Linked DNA regions of Homo sapiens: all the other regions are linked to region 1. Evidence: promoter capture Hi-C in 16 types of primary human blood cells and fetal thymus (Javierre and others, 2016). All regions are on one chromosome and are shown on one strand. Each heading gives the region's core, a stretch centred on a gene start or on the middle of the fragment in contact. The rest is flanking DNA. Distances are from core to core; before and after follow the strand shown. Region 1 holds the start of ANKRD44 (ankyrin repeat domain 44). Region 2 overlaps ANKRD44 (ankyrin repeat domain 44). Region 3 has its middle 34 kb from the start of PGAP1. Region 4 overlaps BOLL (boule RNA binding protein). Region 5 overlaps ANKRD44 (ankyrin repeat domain 44). Region 6 overlaps ANKRD44 (ankyrin repeat domain 44).

Region 1 (3,608 bases), core at 47-2,546:
ACTTCAGTTGCAAGATGTTCTGGCTGGATACTAACTGGAGAACGCAAGGCAGCAGATGCAACCCATGGACAAGTTTGAGGTATTTAATACCAAGGGCTGGCAAGTCTGACCCTGTAGTCAAAGTCAAGATTGCCTCTCTGCCTACCAGGACCCCAAAACAAAGTTCCTTTCACTACCCACGAATAAACGGGGGTGGGGGTAGCAAGCCGTTTCCTTTTTTCGTGGAAAGAGCTGCAAAGAGTTTTGTCATGCAACTTGGTTTGGTGCCTGTTAGTGTCAATGTAAGAGCAGCAGAGTCCGCGAAGGTGGCTGTTACCATTCCACAGACCTGCGGCGAGGACTGTCAATCCGATTCAGCAAATAACCCCACCTCTCCAAGCCAGGACTCCAGAGCTGCCCTGTGTGGTGTCTCAGCAAGGAAAGCCAACAAAGCTGGTAGACACAGGCAGACCGTAGCCCACCGCCTGTGAGTGGAGGCTCCGAGCCGACTTCACCTCCTCCTCAGAGGGACCGGCCCGATCCGAAAGGGCGGTCTCCAGGGGTCCCCATCCCGCACCACGCACACAGCCTGGCGCAACTAAAGAGGAAGTCGGATGTCACATCCAACGGATAAATAAAGACAGCCCGGCCACACAAGAGCCGCATTCTGGGCAGGACTCCTGCTAGGTTTGGGGAGGGGTCCCAGTCTGCGATCCTTTCTCCCTCTTCGTGCAGCGTCCTCCTCCCCGGGGCCCGGGCCGGCGGCGCCCACGCAACGCGGCGCGGTGCGAGTCCCGAGAGCACCTCGAGCCCCCGGCCCCCTCCCCAGCCCCGCCGGGCCCGCGGCCGCCGCACTCCCGCACGCCGGCTGCCCAGCGCCCACGGGCCCTGCCCCAGACTCGGGCGCGCAGTTCCGACGGCCCAGGGCGGGGACGGCGCGGCGGAGGGGAGCTGCCGCCGCGGGCTCTCGGAGGCACCGGCGGCCGCACACAGTCCTCCCCTTCGCCGCGAGTAAACAGCTCGCGGGCGCGCTCCAGCCGCGCCCCCATCCCCCCGCCGGGCTCCGCGCCGCCCCGCGCCCGCGCGTCCCGCCCGCCGGCGCCGCCGCCCGCTACCTGGTCGGTGAGTTTGAGCACTGCCATTCTTCCGCTCCTTCGCGCGCACACACATGCAGGTCCCCGGCCCGCAGATGTCACGCCGGGAGCCGGGGAAGCGGAAGGGATTGCCAGGAGAAGGGAAAAAATCTGGCTCCCGAATTTGACAGCCCTCCCCCTGCTCCTCCTCCGCCGCCGCCTCCTCCCGCCGAGAGGCTGACACTGGCTAGTGGGGTTTGCAGCCGAGCCCGCCCGCCTTTCCACAGGAAGTACCGGCTGCTGCCAGCCGGGCCGCCACTGACATCACCGCGCGCTGGCTCGCTCGCCGCCCGCCGCCTGGGCCGACGCTGCCTCCTGCCGCCCGCAGCCGAGCCGCGCAGCCCGGCCCCCGGCGCTGCCCCCGCGCCCGCACCGGGCCGCCGCCTGCCTTCCGCACCTGCACGCGGCGCCCGGCCGGGCCGGCCCCGGGCCCTGGGCGGATCGCGGGCCTCCCTGACGGGTCTCACACATATGGGTGGGGAAGCCCGCGGGGACACACCCCGAGGGGGCAGGAAAGGCTCTCACTCACATGCCGTCCACTTTAACCGGGGAGATGGGGTTACGCCCCCTTCCCCTAACCCAGAATCAGGTGGTGGCAGCGCCCCGAAGATCCCAGGGACCGCAATTATGATGCTCCCTTTGTTTAATGCCAGGAGGCAGCGGACACATTGTGATTCTTTACAGGGTGTTTGCCAAACATTTATGGGTGGAGGGAACAGAAGCTCTGGCCCTTCCACCTTGTTCTCCAGCCACTTTCCAGCTAAACACACACACACATATGCACACACACATACTATTGTTAAATTCAAACACCCTGGGTTTGGTTTTTGCTGGTGGGGGTGGAGTGGAGTTCCTGGAGAAGCAAAGCAGTCCTAAATCACCGAGTTGATGGGTCTTTTGGGTGTTCCCACCAGTCCTTACTGATCTCTACAAAATCCCAAGTTACCAAGCTCTTCAACAAATAGAAGACAGCTGTCAAACACCATGGGCTACAGATACAACGGGCATATTCGTAAGCATAGTAGCTGTTGATAGTTCTGGAATTTGGAGCAAACACTTATTCATTGAACAGCTATGTACTGAGTCCCTACCTTGTCAGGCACTGGCTAGGCACGGGAATAAACGGAGAGCATAAATAAGATAACCTGCTCTCAGAAGATGCCAACATAAACCGCATAGTCTCTGCTAATGAATGTAATTACAAACTGAGATAAGGGATCTCAAGGGAAAACATGCTTCTGAAGTGAACCCACAACAAAGGAATCAGACCAGACTGGTGGGTGAGGGCAGGCTTCCCTGAGAAAGTGACAGGAGTTGAGATCTGGAGAAGGGAGAATTAAGTAAGCAAGTGGAGAGGAAGTGCTCCCAGGCAGCCCCATGTGCCCCTGGCAGGCCATAGAGCAAACCTGTAGGGCAGCATTGAACAGCTTTGAAGAGCAAACTAGAGCTACAGAATTCTTTGGTCAAGACCAAACATCTGCCTCTACTGTATATTCACAAACCAAATGTCCATTCTTCCTCCCTACTCTTAGAACCTCCCCCAAAGATTCCACATGAGACAGGAGAGAAAGGAGCATTAATATCCTCACATTTACCATCCAGCCACTCTGGTTGTCGAAGCAGCTAAATCTCAAATTTACCTTTATTAGTCTTATAGATTATAATTCAGATCATGCAGACAAGAAGAACCAAGGAACTTTGTTCCTGGCTTCCACTCCTCTGTTATCAATGTTGCATGGAAACAAACAAACAAAAAATTCTAAGGCCTTTCTCAGACATACAACAGATTGTTTATGTTGCATCTATGAGTCAGTTCTTCACTGCTGTTATTGGTATGTCTATTTACTGAACACCCTGCATGGCTTTGTAAGTAAACTGAATAGGACCCTGCATTCTCTACTTAAATAGAGCCATCTTTCAGAAGAGTGATAACAAATGACTTAATTTGGAAGATTCACTCAAGATCCAATTTGATTCATCGCGGACATGCCTGCACCTAAGTTCCTGGGGCCAAAGTGAGGAGGCAGCAGTTCTCCACCCAATCAGACCATCATCCTCTTTTTGTAACTAGTATCTTTAACACTCCCCTTACTATCCTGAAAGGTAATTTGTGGATAATATTACCTACCAATACAAATTTCAAAAAAAAAAAAACCAGCAACAATATATTGTCCTAATTGTACAATAAAGGAAAAATTAAAGGAGAGTAATTTATAATGAATATGTATTTCAGTAGGTAAGTGGTAAAACACAACTCTCTTTGTCTTCTGACAAAACAAAGCAGTAAGATGCTTCCACCTATATGGAGAGGCTTTGTGAATGAGAGAATTACAAATGCAGACAGATGTGAACATATAGTGTTAGGAATTCAAATATCAAGATTGGTGTTGTCATAGGTGACCTGACTTTGTGAAAGGTTGAACAACTCGTGGCCAAGTTCCAAATAAAATAGGGAGCAGAAGATTTGGCAAAATTTATTGATAAGACTACACTTAT
Region 2 (3,695 bases), core at 1,046-3,545, 290 kb before region 1:
CTCCTGAATTTTACTATGCATAAAGTAAAGCCTTCACTAGAAGTATTAAACATTTTAAATTGTTTTAAGCAACACCTTTAAAAAGCCTTATTAGGTAACAATTATTTCTTTTTTTTTATAATTATATATGGAGTTTTTTATTATTATTATACTTTAAGTTCTAGGGTACATGTGCACAATGTGCAGGTTTGTTACATATGTAAATATGTGCCATGTTGGTGTGCTGCACCCATTAACTCTTCATTTACATTAGGTATTTCTCTCAATGTTATCCCTCCTCCCTCCCCCCATCCCACGACAGGCCCAGTGTGTGATGTTCCCTGCCCTGTGTCCAAGTGTTTTCATTGTTCAGTTTTCACCTATGAGTGAGAACATGCAGTGTTTGGTTTTCTGTCCTTGTGATAGTTTGCTCAGAATGATGGTTTTCATCTTCATCCATGTCACTACAAAGGACATGAACTCATCCTTTTTTATGGCTGCATAGTAGTCCACGGTGTATATGTGCCACATTTGCTTAATCCAGCCTATCATTGATGGACATTTGGGTTGGTTCCAAGTCTTTGCTATTGTAAATAGTGCCACAATAAACATACATGTGCATGTGTCTTTCTAGTAGCATGATTTATAATCCTTTGGGATTTACAATCCCAGTAATGGGATGGCTGGGTCAAATGGTATTTCTAGTTCTAGATCCTTGAGGAATTGCCACAGTGCCTTCCACAATGGTTGAACTAGTTTACACTCCCACCAGCAGTGTAAAAGCGTTCCTATTTCTCCACATCCTCTCCAGCACCTGCTGTTTCCTGACTTTTTAATGATCGCCATTCTAACTGGTGTGAGATGGTATCTCATTGCGGTTTTGATTTGCATTTCTCTGATGACCAGGGATGATGAGCATTTTTCATGTGTCTATTGGGTACATAAATGTCTTCTTTTGAAAAGTGTCTGTTCATATCCTTTGCCCACTTTTAGATGGGGTTTTTTGATTTTTAAACTAATTTCTCTCAGGAACTGACCAAACAACCAAACCAAATGTTAAGTAAGTTTACAGAATATGTGAGCTGCACAATGAGAAAAATTTCTCTAACTGCCGTATAAAACACTATGTCTAGCAACTACGAAAGACAACTTTTTATAAACAATTATCTCTTAAACGTGATTAATTTCTCCAGACCTTTTAAGATAGGAACTAAGGACAATGAGGGGAAAGAATTGGGATCTCAACAGAATCCATGAGAACAATGGATCTGTCTGGAAATCTTGACAGCTAGAGCCTTTCATTTGCATAACATTGTTTCTTAATTTAATCTTTTCAAGAGGATGAAATGCTTATGAAATTCACTGGGCCAATAACCCTGGAGATTTGAATCATTCAGCCAGGAAATAGTAACTCAAGGCAGGTCAGGTTTCTTGTAGCAGTCAAGGTTTGGGGGCATCTGGTTCCATTACACTGCTAGATGGCTTCCACCTAAGAAATTATGTGCCTTGGGTTTTATCAAGTTAATTGCTACTGAGGCCCCTAGAGAGGGTGATGGGCATACCTTTTGGGTCCTTAAAGCAAATAATTTGTATTTAGAGAGAAAGAATAAAATGACTTTAGAAGGAATCCACCGTAATCACCCTGGTCAAAGTCATGGTCATCATCTCTTGCCTGGTTTGCTTTGCTTCTGCTTTCGTTCCCTTGCAATTTTGACTCAACATAGAAACTAAAGTGATCCTTTTAAAACAAAAGTCACATCATATCAATCTGTTTCCTCAAGACCCTCCTAATAGTTTCCTATTTTGTTCAGAGTAAAAGTCCCCATGAGATCTGTGGTGGCCCCCCAAACTCCTGGCTCCCTCCACAACATGTGAGGCATTGCCCCCAGCTACTCTCCTCACCACTCTGCTCCAGCCACAGTGGCCCCTTTCCTGTTCTGTGGACAGTTCATGAGTTCCCCCAGGGACTTTGCACTTCTGCCCAAAACACTCCTTCATCAGATGTCAACATGCATAGCTCTTAAGGTCTCTGTACAAATATGAGATTCTATGCTACGTAAAATAGCACCCTGGCCAGGTGCAGCAGCTCATGCCTGCAATTACAGCTACTCAGGAGGTTAAGACAGGAGGATCACTTGAGCCCGGGAGTTTGAGACCAGCCTGGGCAACACAGTGAGACCCCACCTCTTAAATAAATAAATAAGCACCCTGTCTGCCATCTCAATACTTTCTATCTCCCTGATCCCATTTCATTTTCTCTGTAGCACCTGCAGCACTTATTGCCATCTGTCATTTGAGATATTTCCTCGCCTGTTTGTCTCCCCTAGACTGGATACTCTGCAAGGGCAGAGGTGGGGTTTTGTTCACTGCAATATCTCCAGCTACTCAAACAGTGCTTGGCACTATTCACAGTCAGTGTATGTTGGATGAAAGGATGATGTTAATAATGATGTTATATGATGTTAGTAATGATGACGATGAAGCTAGCTCATGGCACATATGTGTGCCAGGCACTGTTCTAATTGTGTTACATCCATTAACTCATGCCATCTCCACAATGGCCCTACGTTGAGGTACTGCTATTCTCATATCATGGGTAGGGACACTGAGACATAAGAGGTGAGGTATTTGGGTTAATATCACACAATAAACAATTCAATAAATTAACAAGTTGGAAAGGGTCTTTGAGATGCTTAACTAACAGATTCCCTTTAACTTACAGGTGGGGAAACCATGCACAGGTGAGTTGCTAATGAAAAGAATGGCAGCTAGGACCTCCACTTGATGTACCTTTCCTGGGTCTCTGTCAGCTGCAGAACTACCAAAGCCCACCTCTTTTAAATGATATCACCACCCTATCTTTACGCAGCCAGCAACCCATAGAGTTTAGCAGAGTACACAATAAGCATTCAACAAATACACTGTGGAAAAAAAAAAGAAGAACGAGAGATGATCAAGTCTTTGGAAGCCAAGAAACTCTTCTCAGATTAGTAGCAGGCTTGGCAATGCAGTCAAACCCACTTTCTTGGGGCCTGAGAATTGTATCTGAGATAACCCTCCACATAAGACTCTCTAGGGGCAGTTAGTGCTATGTTTGTGAGTGCTCAGCTTTGGGGTAACTTCCCCAGGCACAGCAGATGGTTGGGCAGGGATTCTAGCAAGCAACCTGTACTAAGGGCCAACTGGCATGAAGATTTATATGTATAAATATCCCACTATTCATCCACATTTTCCACAGTAAGTCCATCTCCGGGAACACAGACTGATGCACACTTTACCCTGATTTCACTGGACTCAAAATGCATGTGTGTATGAGCGTGTAGTGGGTGTGTTGGTGGGTGTCAGAGGACGTGTGAGTGGGTGTCAGCAGGTGTGCTGTGAGTATGTGGGGAGACAGGCAGTGAAAGGAAAGCTCCACACATATGGTCAGTTCTGGATACTCCCAATCCTTGTGTGATGGCCTTGTCTCCGCTCTCTTGCCTGAACACCTCTGCATGTCAATTAATAAAACACTCCTCTCTTCTCTCCAAAATTTCCAGGTCAATTTTTCATCAGAATGACACTGAAGGAGTGCTTATGTACACATAGTATTAAGTGAAAAGTCATAAACACAGTTAAACAAAGAAACCCAGCCCCTTCCCATTCTTCCTGGTGTCCTGCCCCTGGGTTTTACTAAGCAAAGAAGCATCCAAACACCATCTTTGTGGCCTTGAACC
Region 3 (3,670 bases), core at 707-3,206, 350 kb before region 1:
CGTAACACTGGGGATTACAACTCAACATGAGATTTGGGTGTGGACACAGAGCCAAACTTATCACTACATTTTTAGAAACAGGATAATTTAGGTATGGAGTTATAGATCCTATGGAAAAATCTAGTCAAGACCACGATGAATATGACTTAATTTTATAAATGATGTTTATACTCCTGCCAAAAAAAAAAAAGCCAAGTAGATCATTGATTTCTTACAAGTTATTTTACCAATTGTGGTTTAGAAAATATTTCTAATCCAATTGTCACCTATCTTTACCTGTAGAAACAAATGTGGTCACACACTTTACCTGTAGAAACAAATTTAGGTCACACATTGTATAAATTATAATGGGATTCAAATTTTATTTTCTTTAAACAGTAGCTATTTTTCTTCAAAATGGTCCTGGTTATTTCTGGGAGTCCCTGAACATATGCTTTCCTCATATTCACAAACCAATCTATCAGCTTTAATCACTACTAGAATCATCCACCCACTTAATTAATAGGTACTGAGTGCATACTATGTGAGAGGATACAACAGAGTCCTACAGAAATCTCTGTCCTGGCCCTCTTGGAGCATCCCTAGTATTTTTTCTTGTCTGCTCCAGTTCTCATCTGTCAACATGAAGTCCTGGCAAGCAGCTGGAAGAAATTTTTATCACTGCCTTCACTGAGGAAGTCCACTGCGAAACACTTGACCAAGAATGTGCTGAGAATACTGTCTCCCAATGTCTCCAAAGTCCCCATCACATGTGCCAGAACAATACTGGATTCCACAGGGAGGTGGGAAAAAATGGCCCTCTCCAACTCTGTGTCACTCTTTGACATCTGGGCCCCAAAGCAAGTCCTGTTCATGAAAAAAAATATTCTGTAGTTCTAGGGGCTCACAATCCACCCAATGGCCTCAGTGTCATGTTATCGTCTCCATTATCCTCATCACCCCTCTTCCCTGCCCCAAGCTATTACCAAACAAAAGCACCCAGCAATGTCAATGAGAGAAAATGTACAGTGGGTGCTGGTGGTTGTTTTTATACTAGGAGTGTCTGGACGCCAGCTGAAATGGCCTGTGACATTGTGTAGCATAATTCAAAAGTTTGGCCAGCAATCCTGCATACAAAATGCAACCACTTGAAGGTTTTGCCCAGAGCTATGGCAATAAAGTGCATAGCAGCAGTTCAGTGAACTTTCTCCATTCTTCAGCCTGCGCAAAGCACTGGCTGATGTAGCCAGATATTGTTGTCCATGGCTTTAATTATTTAGAAGTAGATATGAATAATAGGGAGCTTGAAGTTGTCTAGAGCTTGGTGTGGTGCTGGCTCAAAATAGCAACTAATTCCTATGTAAGTTTAAAAGAGCTTGGTATGGGTAACCTCTAGAAGATCCCAAGCCAAGTAGAAAATGTGGTCAGGAAAAGGATTCAGCCCTTGAATATTGAGAAATCATGTTGTCACAGAGAACACGTGACAACTTCCATGTGCAAACAAAACATAACAGATAACAGGCCATTCAGAAACTGTTACTGAGGGACTTGCTCTTGGAAGGCTGAGGATAAATTAAAATAAATCCAACCAACACCAAGTCTGACTTGACACGTAGGTGAGGCAGAAAGCTGAAAAAAAAAAAAAAAAAACTTCCAGAATTGGAGTCTTGGATAATTTTAAATGGTCTCATTCAAAAGTTCCTATTCTATAGTAAAAAAGAGTTCAACATAGGGCTATGATATTTCTAAAACAGGACTTGAATGTGGATCAGATGGCTGAAATTTTGATATTTCTAGTATTTTGCTCAGTTTTGTTCTTCCCATCATTTAAATGACCTCAAAGGAAATGTTTACGATCACTAAAGATTTCTAATGCCCAAGAATAGGTCAATTCTCAGCCCAGGGCTTGACAAATTAGCAATTAATTATTGTTTTTATTTTTAAAATATTTATTTAAAAGGCAATGCATATTTGTTTTAGATAATTTTTTTAAATACAGAAGTAAATACATAAGATCAAAAAGGTCTCTTCCAGCCATGTGTGGTGGCTCACGCCTGTAACTCCAGCATTTTGGGAGGCCGAGGTGGGTGGATCACCTAAAGTCAGGAATTCGAGGCCAGCCTGGCCAACATGGCGAAATCCCATCTCTACTAAAAATACAAACATTAGCCAGGCATGGTGGCAGGCACCTAAAATCCCAGTTGCTAGGGAGGCTGAGGTAGGAGAATCACTTGATCCCTGGAGGCGGAGGTTGCAGTGAGCCAAGATTGTGCCATTGCACTCCAGCATAGGTGACAGAATGAGACTTGATCTCAAAAAAAAAAAAAAAAAGTCTCTTCTACTCCTACCCCAATCCCTACTCCCCACAGGTAGCCACCACTACATTTGCAATATATCCTTCTTGTCTTACATCCTGATGCATTTACATCTTCTTTCTAGAATGTGGGTTCATGTTATGTGCAATTTAGCTTTTATCACTAAATAATTTAAATTGGATAGATCCCACTATATTGATTAACATTATTTATCCAATCCCCTTTTGATGGGCATCTGGATTATTTTCAAATTTTGATTATTAGAGATGGTGCTGCAACTAACATCCTTATACATTCATATTTATGCATTATGGAAGCATTCTGGGACATAAACCCCCAGGGGTTGAATTGCTTGGCCAGATGGTATATGCATTTAGAATTTTGATAAATACTCCCAAAATTACCTCCAAAATGTTGGCACCAATTTACACTCCCACCAATGATGACTAAGAGAGCCTGTTTCCCTACACGCTCCTCACACTTTGTATCAAGGCACTGACTAGTTAAATAAAGGAATGTGTCTCTCACTTCAGAAAGACATGGTGATAAAGATCTTGCCTCATTCTCTTATTTTCCTTTATTTTCTCTTTCCTTTTCATAAGTGCCACTTAATCCTAAGGGAAGAAAAAAGAAATACTTGTTTGGTTTTCAGAATGTTCCTCAAAGGTACATGAATTCTGCAAGTTATGAACACCAATCTTATAAACACCCATACCTTACAAATAAACTGCTCATTTATATGTAAAAATTAACTATCCTGAAAGTGGGAAGACAGTCCCTTTTAGATGCTGGAGATGGAAAAATATACTCCTCATATCTCCCTTTGACTAGTCATTGATTCATGCATTCACATATGTATGAGTCCACACATTAGTTCATGCTTGCATCCATGTATACACTTATCTAAGTCAGATAAGTTCTGGGTACCATGCTGATCATTATGGTTGTGGAAGTGAAATACAGTCTCTGCCTTCAAGAAGATCACAGTGTAACTTAGTGGAAAGACAGAACAGGAAACCAACAGTTATAGAGTGAGAAAGTGCTACTTTCAGGTTCATGCAGAGCTCCTGAAGAGCAACAGGGTAGGATTGGCACATATGTGAGAGTGGGCTGCAGACAATGCCAGAAATCTGGTTCTGGGAGGGACCAGGCAACTATCACATCTAACCCAGTTGGGGAGGAGGTGAGTAAAAGACCTCAGGACTGGGAACCCTGAAGGGTACTCTTTGGCTAGAAGTTATATGCAGCAGAAAGTTCCATTTTGTAAGTATTGTTTTGTTTTACTCTTAGTTTTTTAATGAAAATTCCTAAGTGAAGAAAATCTCAACCTTGTCTTTGGATAGGATTTTTATCCCATCTATTAAAACTGCCAGAGA
Region 4 (3,400 bases), core at 547-3,046, 460 kb after region 1:
GAGTATGAAAATAAGCAACACCATTATGGTAAGTATAAGGATATCCAGTTGAAGTTGTTAGATACATTGTTCCAGCTGCTGGCATTATACTAGAACCTAAAGCAAAGATTAAATAATAATAATTGAAATGTTCAATTTAACTGTTAAAAATGTAGTTTCTAAACACTTCAGAAAAATATTTATCTTAATATACCTATGTAGCTATGGTAAAAATTGAATGTCACAGATATTTTTAAAAAATTCCTTATGTCAAAGTATCTTTGAAGCCTGTATTTTTAAACTCAATACCTTAAAGCTTTTAGTTTAAGATGATTAAAAGAAAAGAAAAACAATACGAATAAGAAATACCAAAAATGTATCAATTCAGATTCCAACACCAGTATGCTACACAAAGCTGAACAATTTAGACTATCATCAGCGAAGTAATTATTTGTACAAATATAAATTATGTATAATTTAAAGTTACTTCAAGACAACATACACTGTAGTGAAGTTCCTAAGGTCTTGGCTAGACCTTTTATTTCTGAAAGTCCAAAGATGATGGAGGCAGTAAAGTTGGAGAAGATTCTACTTTCCTGAAGACATTTTGGTTCCACCCTACTAATTCTTTGGATATCCTACCAGCAAACATTCGTTCATGCTATGGCTGTCTTTTATCTCTCTTTTCTATGATCTATTCTCTATCTAGTCTCCCTTTGCTACAACTGCTGCTGTTGCAAACATGACCGCAAGTCTTCATGTGGCTAGTCTGGGGTCCCCAACTCTTTTCCCGGGCCAAGTTATATAAACCCCCACCACAAACCAAAAAACAGTAAATAATATACATAGATATATATATATTTTTTGTCATTGAGGAGACTTTAAAAGTTAAATTAGCCAAATTAGATTAGGTCTTAACCAGCAAGGTTATATAAATTAGTGAAACTGACAATTCTTCCACCTATACCAGTGCTTCTCAAAATTTCCCATAAATTAGAATCACTTAAATTGTTTTCTAAAATGCAAATTCCAGGGACTTATCTTCAGAGATTTTGAGTCAGTAAATCTGGGACAGGGCCTAAGAATTTGCATTTTGACAGCTTCCAATGAAATGACACTGTCTGCAAACCACACTTCAAATAGCATGGGCCTACCACTTTAAATAATACTATTGCTCCTCAGCTTTTATATTTTCACTGCATTTGATCTAGTATTGTTATTATTTATTTTAATGGTTCTTAATTAGATCCTTTTGAGAATTTGATGAAAATCAGGGACCTTTTCCTCAGATATATATACAGTCAAACACAATTTTACACACAATTTTGGAGGTCCATGGATTCCCCCCAAAAGATATTCCACTATTATTCAAAGATAATGATAATGGTTCATTATTCAATAATGGTTCATTATTCAAAGAAAATGAACCATGCTTTACCTGCTAAATAAATAAATTTTCAGTGCATACTATTTCAAGGCATTGAACAGGGCCCTAGTGATACAGCAAAAAATAAAAAAATTAGACATGAGATGGTCTGTATCCTCAAAGAAGTTAGGTCTGGTAGTGAAGATAGTCATTAGTTGATTACACAATTAATTAATTAAATACAATTTTGATAAATACATGAGGCATTATAGGGTACGATACTGAACATTTCAATTATTATGTATACAAAACATATATAAAATTTCTCTCTATATACATATATATGGAAAATTTGTGATGAAATGATGTTCAGCTAAGCTCTAAAGAATGAATTGGATGGCAAAGTACATTCTAGGTAAAGAAAACAGTATATTAGATTCTGAGAACAGGAGTATAGAATGTTCTGGAACTGAAAGAAGGCTACATGGCTAAAGCATGGAAAGAAAAGGGAAGAATACCTCAAAATAAGCTGAGCATAAGACAATAAGAGGTGCACTTTTGAAAGATCACTCTGGCTGCCTTGTGAATGATGGATTGGAAGGTAGAAAGATTGGATTCAGAGAGACCACTTAGGATGTTTTTCCAGGAATTAAGGTAAACAAAGTGGTTAGTTGGGACTCGGGTGTTGGTAATGGAGATGGAAAGAAATGACAGATCTAAGAAAAAACTAAGATAAGAATCCCTTATTTGTAAATGTACTTTTAACACCTATTTTTCTTCGCAGAAAAGTCAAAAGAACTTTGGAGTCAAACAGTCCTGCATTTGAAGGCTAGTGCTACCACTCACCATTAGGCTATTTAACCCCATACTTCTTAAAGTTGGATAAGGGATGGATGGTATACCAGGAGATATGAAAAAGCAGAGGCTGAACATAGTAATCTTCCTACAGAATCAGTTTTATTCAATTGTTTTTGGGAAATATTTTTATATTCAAATAAACAATATGATATTATGGAACAGAATGCAAATTATACATGATGTTTTTGCATAAATCATGAGACTTTAAAGAAAATTTGCAATTCCAGTATGCTGCAGTGGGTTAGGAACCACAACATGCCAAGATTAACTCTCCTCTACCTTTAGGAGTATTTCAGCAGAAACATTTTTAAAACAATGACTTTATCTTTTTGGGATTGAATTTTCTATTTACAAAAATAGAGATAACAATACATCATGGGATTCTATGAAGATTAAATGAAAACTCATAACATTGACCCTTGCACTAAGTAGTTTTGAAAAAACTATTTGTATATGTGAAAGCATTCAGCATAGTGCTGATTTATTTTCTATTTCAGCAACTGGTAGATCATACTATGAGCATTACTATTTAGTACATATTGCTGGTGATAATGGGCTAACGGACCGTTACTATATGTTCTAGCTTAACCTTTGCAAGTAACAACAGTAGATTGAAAATATTCAGCATTCTGCCATATTTAGTGCATTCCATTTTGTATTAACCTACTGAGGATACTTTGATTGTCTCCTAAATTAACAAATACTAAGTCAAAATTAAACTTAATATACATCAATCTCTTTTTTGTTGTAGTTGTGGCAACTGTATTAACCAAATATCTATTATTTCTAAGTCAAAAGCATAACAGTCCAAATGAATACAATCTATTAATTTGTTAACAGATTATATATAATAACCTAATGTTTTAAACATTCCCGTAGACACTAGGATGTGGCTAAGGGAAAATAAGTTAGTTATAAATTTTACATCACATTTCTCCTTCTAGCCAAAGACTGTTAGGAATTTTAATAAATATTAAAGGTAAAAAGTTAACTATAAAGATGCCTAACTTAATAAGTAGAAAGAGTGAGGAAAGATAGAATTGAAAGCATTAGAGAAATTTGAGGAAGGTAGATACATAATTTAGCCAATTCCTAAAGCTTTAGGGATTGTCCCCCTGAAAATTATGACACACCTGGCTGGGTTACAGTACACAGCATGCAGCGAGTTTCTGATATTAGTTCTATGTTTTCACTTTC
Region 5 (3,609 bases), core at 741-3,240, 270 kb before region 1:
AGAAGCCTTCAAAAGTCTTACTATCCTTTGGAAATGCCTATAAAAGTCTCCTCCCCTCAGTACTGTTCCACAACTAACTCTTTTCATAAAAACATTGAGAGAATTTAAGAAGGTGCCTTTCCCTTCTTCCAAAGGCACTTGTTGGACAAGAGACAGAGTAGACAGAGCTATGATGTCCCAAGAGCAGAAAATCCATCCCACTGGATTTCCAATGAACTCTTCTTAGGCTCCGAGACTGAGAAATCATAGGCTCCTCTCACCTCTTCAAGGGTCTACTTTATCCAAAAGGTCATGGTAACGGCCAAGGATTTTCATATGGGCTACCCTCTCCTGGTTCCCATTGGTTTGTCCCTGCAGTAGCCAGTAACACAGGCTCCCGCTTCCTGGGCATCTGTCTCTCTCTCTCTCTGGGCATACCCTATAGGCCTTGGCTCAAGCATCAACTATGGTCTTCAAGCCACCTCAAGACTGTATGGCCAGCACTTGCTCATTTTTCTCACTGGAACCAACAGGAGTTGCCTAATGCCAGCAATTGCCTCTCTTCTCTCCCCATTCTAAGAGAAAAGGTCAGCCTTTAGAGTGTTGAATTCATTCAGCACACTTCAGTAGGAATTCACAATGCATCTTCCTGTCTCTTTTTCTGGCCTCCTTCCTGCTTAGAATTTTTAGCAGAACTACAGGGAACCTCACTCCAGCAGGATACCTATAGATCTCAGATCTCAGATCACCTGCAGCCCAACAGGCAGACCCCTCTCTCCTTCTCCATCTTACCTCTCTTCAAAAATAAATCTCACCACAGAAGAAAATGAAATACACAATAAAGAACAGATTATTTACAACAGAAAGCAAGAGCACATGAATCTAATCTAAGCTAAACATGATAATTCAAAGAATTGTTTTCTCCAAAGTTCATACAATTTCATTTCATTAAATCAGGTTTTCATTTAGGTAAGATATCTATTGTACCACAGCTATTTAATGGGTACATTAATGAAAAAAAAACATAAGAAAAATATGTTTTAGATTTTAAGAAGACAAAAGCCTATATAAAAATCATAATATAACTTTATCTTCTTTTAATGTAATAAAACTATGATACCCCCAAGCCTGATTTTGTGTGTGTGTCAATTTAAAAAATGGTTCCTACTTTGAGTCTTTCCACTGCGGGGTCCACCTTAGCCACACACTATCCTCCTGATAATTATGCCTCTTTTTATTTGAAGGGGTTCCTGGTAGCCAGCTTGCAGGCCTGCATTTGGCAAATCTAGCCTTCTTGGATTCACTTTCTGTGAGCTTTTAGACCATATCCCAGTCCTACTCCTGTTACCTTGTCCTTTGGCTATTATTGAATAGGAAATATCTACCATTTCCTTCACAAGTGGCCAACATTGTTAGGAGAAAAGGAAGAATACTGTCCATAAGACTCAATTCCTATTGCTTCCAATTGTATCTTCTCATTCCACATCTGCCCCCTCCACTACTAAAAAAAAAAAAAAAAAAAATCCAAATTTCTTTCCTCCAGGCCTCCATATTTAAAGAACTACCTGTCTCTCGGGGAAGACAGGCATTCTGCTTCCTACCCTCTCTCCCCCAATGTCAAATATAAATCACTGTCACAAATCCAGAAAGCCCAGGAATAACATATGAATTTTAAGAAGTCTTAAAATCAGGTCCTAAACTGTTTATTTTTATTTATTTATTTTTTAGTTTTACAACCTCAGCTGAGAACTGACTAAACCTTTTCAGGCATCCAGCAATTCTGAAAGTGAATCATGTTCAGCCAGTGAGGCATTTTCAGTAAATGCAAGGCATTTTCAGTAAAGGCAAGAATGAGGCATTTTCGGTAAACAGTGTCCATCATATAAAACTCACTGCAGTTTATGAATTTGGGCCACCAGGATGCAAATGCAGCCGTTTCACTCCCTGGATTCAGAGGCTTTTGCACCAATGTGGGTGTGTCTATGGCTCCTTTTCCATCTGTTGTTTGTGTTTTGTTTCTAGCTGTTAATTAGCTTGTTGAACAGCAGGTGTGAGAGAAAGGGATATTTAATTTAGTAATATGTACCACAAACGTCCTCACGATTCTCACCCTAACCAGTTTCACTGTTTGCTGATAGCTTCAATAAACGGGTTTAAGAAGAGAGGTGAAACTGTTGACTAAAATTAAGTTTTTGTAGTACCTGGACTTATCCTACTACCTCAATCCCTAGTAATGAAAGAAAACCTAAAATGTAGTGTAATTCTATATCATTCAGAAGAGCAATTTAATATAATAGAAATCTATACTTGTAAAGTTCCTTTCTTATTGTTCCCCATTATCTATTAGAATGACTTTGCTCTAGTTTTGACAAGGCTTTTTAAAAATTTTTTGTAGAGATGGGGGTCTCACTATGTTGCCCAGGATGGTCTCAAACTCCTGCCCTAAAGTGATCCTCCCACCTCAGCCTCCCAAAGCACTGAGATGACAAGCATGAGCCACCCTGACGAGGCTTTATTTTGAAAGTCATGTTAAAAAATACTTTCTTACACCCTAAAAATTATGGAAAATTAAATATTGACAAAGTTTTGTTTTTAATTTTTAAAAATGTGGGGCATCAAATATGTTAAGCATGCAGATGAAAGGCAGGTGAAAAAAAATTCAGTGTTCCATTTAAAAAACAGGTAGTGATGCTATTAGCTTGACACGGGGGAGACTAAACTACCTTTATTTGCTGGACAACAGCATGGTTGTCAAAACTGGACCCTGGTTTTTTTTTTCCCTTTCAGGACACATACTGTATCATGGGTTCTTTAATTTAGTGTATGGATTAGGTAGGGACATATTTGAAAGCACTAATTCACTCTTGATTGCCAAATTCATAAAGTGAACTGCTTAAGGTTAGATAAGAATGATCTATTTATAAAATCTAGTGCCAAAAATTAAAGTAATTATACTAGAAGTGTGATTTTTATTTCTGATCTTTTTAAAGTCAAGGGATCAGTGATCAAACAATTAAAATGAAGAGTCCATATCTTAAAATAACAAATTCAATTTGTAGGATATTTTCTTTTTTGTTTACTTACTGTATTTCTTGGAATTTTATTTATTAAGCAATAAAAATGGAAGTGAACACAACTGCATAAAAATTTTGGAATACTTCTCTGTATGTTATCATAGTCAAAAGATGTTTTTCAGAATTTGTCTTATGATGCCAAATTATTCCAAAATTTCCTAAATGGTTGATAAACAGAGTAAGAACTGGATTATACATCAGCTCCTGCAGTTTCCAACTGCACATTCCAGTTTTAAAGTATAACCATAATGTATGCTTTCCTCAGAAGGGTGCCTGGCATTTATTTATGATGGTCAATTTTTTTTGTTGTTGTTGAGATGGAGTCTCATTCTGTTGCCCAGGCTGGAGTACAGCGGCGCGATCTCGGCTCACTGCAACCTCTGCTTCCTGGGTTCAAGCAATTCCTGCCTCAGCCTCCTGAGCTGGGATTACAGGTGCCTACCACACATACAGCTAATTTTTGTATCTTTAGTAGAGACAGGGTTTCACCATGTTGGCCAGGCTGGTCTCAAACTCCTGACCTCAGGTGATGCCCGCCTCGGCCTTCCAAAATGCT
Region 6 (3,513 bases), core at 991-3,490, 310 kb before region 1:
TGAAATAATATTAACAAAATGCCAAAATGTTATTAACATGTTCACAGGTGTTCTGAGACTTAATGAACAAATAAAACAATGAAGGTCATATGGTCTGGTGAAGAGAGACAGAGAAGATGACTCATTTGCAAGCAGAATATATTCTGTTTTATTCTCAGCTCTTGAAAGATAGATGCCTCACACAGGCATGCTTCAATTTGTCCACATTTATAAGAGGAAATGTACCTTTCACCCATACAAATACTTCCACTTACATTATGCATTCTAGTGGAGAGGCGAAACTGTGATTAGGAGAAAACAGTATTTGAGATAATGCATGTGAAAATTGACTATAAAATACTATATGTGTTTTAACTGCCCCCAAGAACAGTTCTTGGCACATCATGGGCATTCAGTAAGCACTATTCAAATAAGTAGATGAATGAATATGTGAAATTATTTTCAACAAAATGGTAGGTAGTTTCCAAATCAACTGAATTCAAGTTAAGTAAGGTCCTAGCTGTCAGCTTACTTGTTATGTGATCTGAGGCAATTTACTTGGGATCTCTGAGCCTCAGTTTCTCACATATTCAAAACTGGACTAGGAATACCTGCCCTACCTATGTCACAGGATGGTGAGAACTTTACTCAATAAAGGGCCTCAGTGTGGTTTGTGACGTTCTATACAATTGTAAGACAGATCTTGCTGCCTGGTATTGTCTCCCAGGAAGAAGGGTGATGGTTCCCCAGCCTGACTAAGCATTCCCTCATTACAGACCTGGTTAAAACAAAAAACAAAAAACAACGACAAAGTCTCTGTGGTTCTCAATTCTAATGTGGGAAGGCATTGCCATTTTGCTTTGCAACACAGATTGTCCTGAAACCTCTTCTTGGTTGAACTCAGTGCTAAGTTAGTGAAAGTTCCCTTATGATCTACCTCAGAATGATGTAGATGGGACAATTTGAAATATTAAAATACAAATCAAACTTTTCTTATATCTAAAAAGAGAATAGGCAATATTGCTTTTAGACAGATTAAAAAGCTTATGAAGTAATAAATATAAAAAACTGGCAGTGGCTGGGCATGGTGGCTCATGCCTGTAATCCCAGCATTTTGGGAGGTCGAGGCGGGCGAATTACTTGAGGTCAGGAGTTCAAGACCAGCCTGGCCAACATGGCGAAACCCCATCTCTCCTAAAAATACCAAAAAAAAAAAAAGATGTGTGGTGGTGCCTGTCTGTAGTTCCAGCTACTCGGGAGGCTGAGGCAGGAGAATCGCTTGAACCCAGGAGGCAAAGGTTGTGGTGAGCCGAAATCACGCCACAAGCCTGGGTGACAGAGTAAGACTCCATACACCCCTAGAAAAAAAAAAGCCAGCAGCTCTAGGAAAGTTGTATGATTTAGCCTTCCAACTAACTACATGGAACCGTCATTGAAATAGTCCCAGACACCTCAAGTCTTCCAAAGGATCTAGCTTAGGGTAGCATCCACACATAGCATTCCTTAAGTGGGGACTATATGAATCCCAATTTAAGAGTCTGTACAGGTAGGACTGGAGATGACTGAGCTCCTTTCAATATTTCAAAGTGCCTAGTAAAAAGGAGTCTGGGAAGATGGGAGCTTGAAACTCAGTCCTGGACAAAGGCTGCACTGAAAGGGTGAACGGCTTAGGAGGAGACTGCTCCTCCTCCCCTGCCTGTACCTGGAGAGGCTAGGAACACAGACACCTCTCACCCTGAGCCCTGAAGAGAGGATCTGGTCTGTGTCAGGTTTGCGGCCCGCCATTATAATCAGCACTCTCACTGCATCCTTCTCCTCTTGTAGGTTCTCCAGTGCCAGAGAGCTCCCACAGCTTGACCCAGATGGGGGTCACCCATTAGTAGGTTAAAAAAAAAAATCACAATCCTCCAATGGCAGGAAGGGAACAAAACCAAGTTGAGGAAATAGAAAATTTGGCTCTTACTGAGCAGAATGAATGAAAAAAGAGGACCGTAGTGAAAACACAGTAAGAGGTCTTAAATTGATATAATTAGAACACACACACACACACACAAACGCCTTTTGTGGAACTATTAATGGTTTCTAAATTAAAATTTTAATTGACTAATTGAAAATGTAAAAAGAAAATTATAGAAGCAAAGTAAAAAATACATGGGAAAATATCCATATAATCTTAGGGGTAGGAGACCTTTTGAAGAGAGACTGGAAACCTGGAAACCATACAAAATCTGATAGGATCTTGGTTTTGTTCATTGACATATTTCAAGTATCTAAACAGTAGCTGCCATTGTAGTTATTCAATACATATTTGTTGAAAATATAATAGAAATGTATCTCTGTAACTGATTCAAGTACATAAAAGCTCAAAATCTCTAAGTGGAAAAAAACATCCTAAACAAGGAACAAAAATATTCATATTTCTAAGACATTCATATCATTAAACATTCATTCATATCACATTCTTATCACCAAGACAAGGTGCTCCCACAAGCATACGAGAAAAGATAAATAGCTCAATAGGAAAAAAGTGAACAGTGGATGGAAAAAGTAATTTCTAGAAGAAGAAATACAAATAGCCAGGGTACTATTAGATAGGGAAATGCAAATTGAAACAAGAAGATACCTTTTGCCTCTCAAATCGACAAAAATTTAAAAAGGTGTTATTCTGGGTTGGCAAGCATGAGGAAAAACACTAACTTTTATACAAATGTTTGGTGAAATAATAAATTTTGATATCCTTTTTGCAAAATAATATGGTATAATTTATTAAAATTAAAAAATACACAAACCCCCTTACTCAATAATTTTATTTCTGGAAACTTATCTGAGAGAATTTATGGTACCATAATATGGACATGCACATTGCTGCATTGCTTGTAATAGGAAAAAAGAAATCTGAATGTCAATCCACAGAAACCTGGTTGAATAAATAATAAGTTCTGGTATACATATTGCTATGAAATAATATACAACCATTATAAGATCAATCCATATTGATACATATTGACTTGTAAGAATATCTGCAATACAATTTAAACACCAACAAAAAATTATAGAATGGCTGCTATTTGTTCTATAATTCCAGTTTCAAAAAATATACACATTAATTTATAATTATTTATATTTTCAAAGGAAAAATTATGAAAGATGCACACAAAATTACATTAGAAAGTAGGTTTAGAAATGGAAACAATTTTACTTCAGATATTTCTGTACTTTGGAATTGGTATAATTAGGATGCATTTTTAAATTAAGTGAAATACAAATTTAAAAATCTCCCAAATAATAAGTACAACAAAATAAATAAGGAATATGAAACACAACAAACACCAAAAGATGAACCATGCATCTACTAGTAATCAATTGTGACAGGTTATTAAATTATATACATATATTTGGTATTAGTTTTATTATTTTAATCCCTTGTGGGATCCTGGTTATATTATATAGATCAGAAACCCTGAATAAAATTGGTCATTTAAGCTTATCGGTTCTGATTACGGTTAAGTGTTAATGATTAACTAAAAGGGGAAA

The links. The method cuts DNA at HindIII sites, captures the fragments that hold promoters and counts their contacts. A CHiCAGO score of 5 or more calls a contact.
Region 2: a fragment that was not itself captured here is called in contact with the fragment with the promoter of ANKRD44 in region 1 in 3 of 17 cell types (neutrophils, total B cells and naive B cells); the score reaches 7.2 in neutrophils.
Region 3: a contact is called between a fragment that was not itself captured here and the fragment with the promoter of ANKRD44 in region 1, in 1 of 17 cell types (neutrophils). The highest score is 5.8, in neutrophils.
Region 4: a contact is called between a fragment that was not itself captured here and the fragment with the promoter of ANKRD44 in region 1, in 1 of 17 cell types (M2 macrophages). The highest score is 5.0, in M2 macrophages.
Region 5: a contact is called between a fragment that was not itself captured here and the fragment with the promoter of ANKRD44 in region 1, in 4 of 17 cell types (total B cells, monocytes, total CD8 T cells and 1 more). The highest score is 9.1, in total B cells.
Region 6: a fragment that was not itself captured here is called in contact with the fragment with the promoter of ANKRD44 in region 1 in 1 of 17 cell types (total B cells); the score reaches 5.7 in total B cells.

The regions. Positions count from the first base shown.
Region 1 is chr2:197,309,484-197,313,091 of GRCh38, forward strand. It overlaps ANKRD44 (ankyrin repeat domain 44), which reads right to left and starts at 1,297. Exons shown (of 28, transcript NM_001195144.2): 1 at 1,095-1,297. The coding sequence starts at 1,121. ANKRD44-DT (ANKRD44 divergent transcript) reads left to right here and starts at 1,583. Exons shown (of 4, transcript XR_923750.3): 1 at 1,583-3,215. RefSeq lists an enhancer at 148-649 and silencers at 773-1,152, 1,203-1,522, 1,533-1,612. The HindIII fragment of the contact is 14,364 bases long and covers 1-3,608 here.
Region 2 is chr2:197,020,667-197,024,361 of GRCh38, forward strand. All of the region lies in intron 17 of ANKRD44 (ankyrin repeat domain 44), which reads right to left. Among named protein-coding and RNA genes, the nearest start is that of PGAP1, 96 kb to the left of the region's middle. The HindIII fragment of the contact is 5,296 bases long and covers 1-3,695 here.
Region 3 is chr2:196,958,761-196,962,430 of GRCh38, forward strand. No RefSeq gene overlaps it. Among named protein-coding and RNA genes, the nearest start is that of PGAP1, 34 kb to the left of the region's middle. RefSeq lists a silencer at 3,265-3,374. The HindIII fragment of the contact is 4,897 bases long and covers 1-3,670 here.
Region 4 is chr2:197,771,887-197,775,286 of GRCh38, forward strand. It overlaps BOLL (boule RNA binding protein), which reads right to left. Exons shown (of 11, transcript NM_033030.6): 6 at 1-96. Among named protein-coding and RNA genes, the nearest start is that of BOLL, 12 kb to the right of the region's middle. The HindIII fragment of the contact is 3,006 bases long and covers 294-3,299 here.
Region 5 is chr2:197,041,018-197,044,626 of GRCh38, forward strand. All of the region lies in intron 16 of ANKRD44 (ankyrin repeat domain 44), which reads right to left. Among named protein-coding and RNA genes, the nearest start is that of PGAP1, 120 kb to the left of the region's middle. The HindIII fragment of the contact is 4,276 bases long and covers 1-3,609 here.
Region 6 is chr2:197,001,970-197,005,482 of GRCh38, forward strand. The region is part of intron 21 of ANKRD44 (ankyrin repeat domain 44); the gene reads right to left. Among named protein-coding and RNA genes, the nearest start is that of PGAP1, 77 kb to the left of the region's middle. The HindIII fragment of the contact is 2,440 bases long and covers 1,021-3,460 here.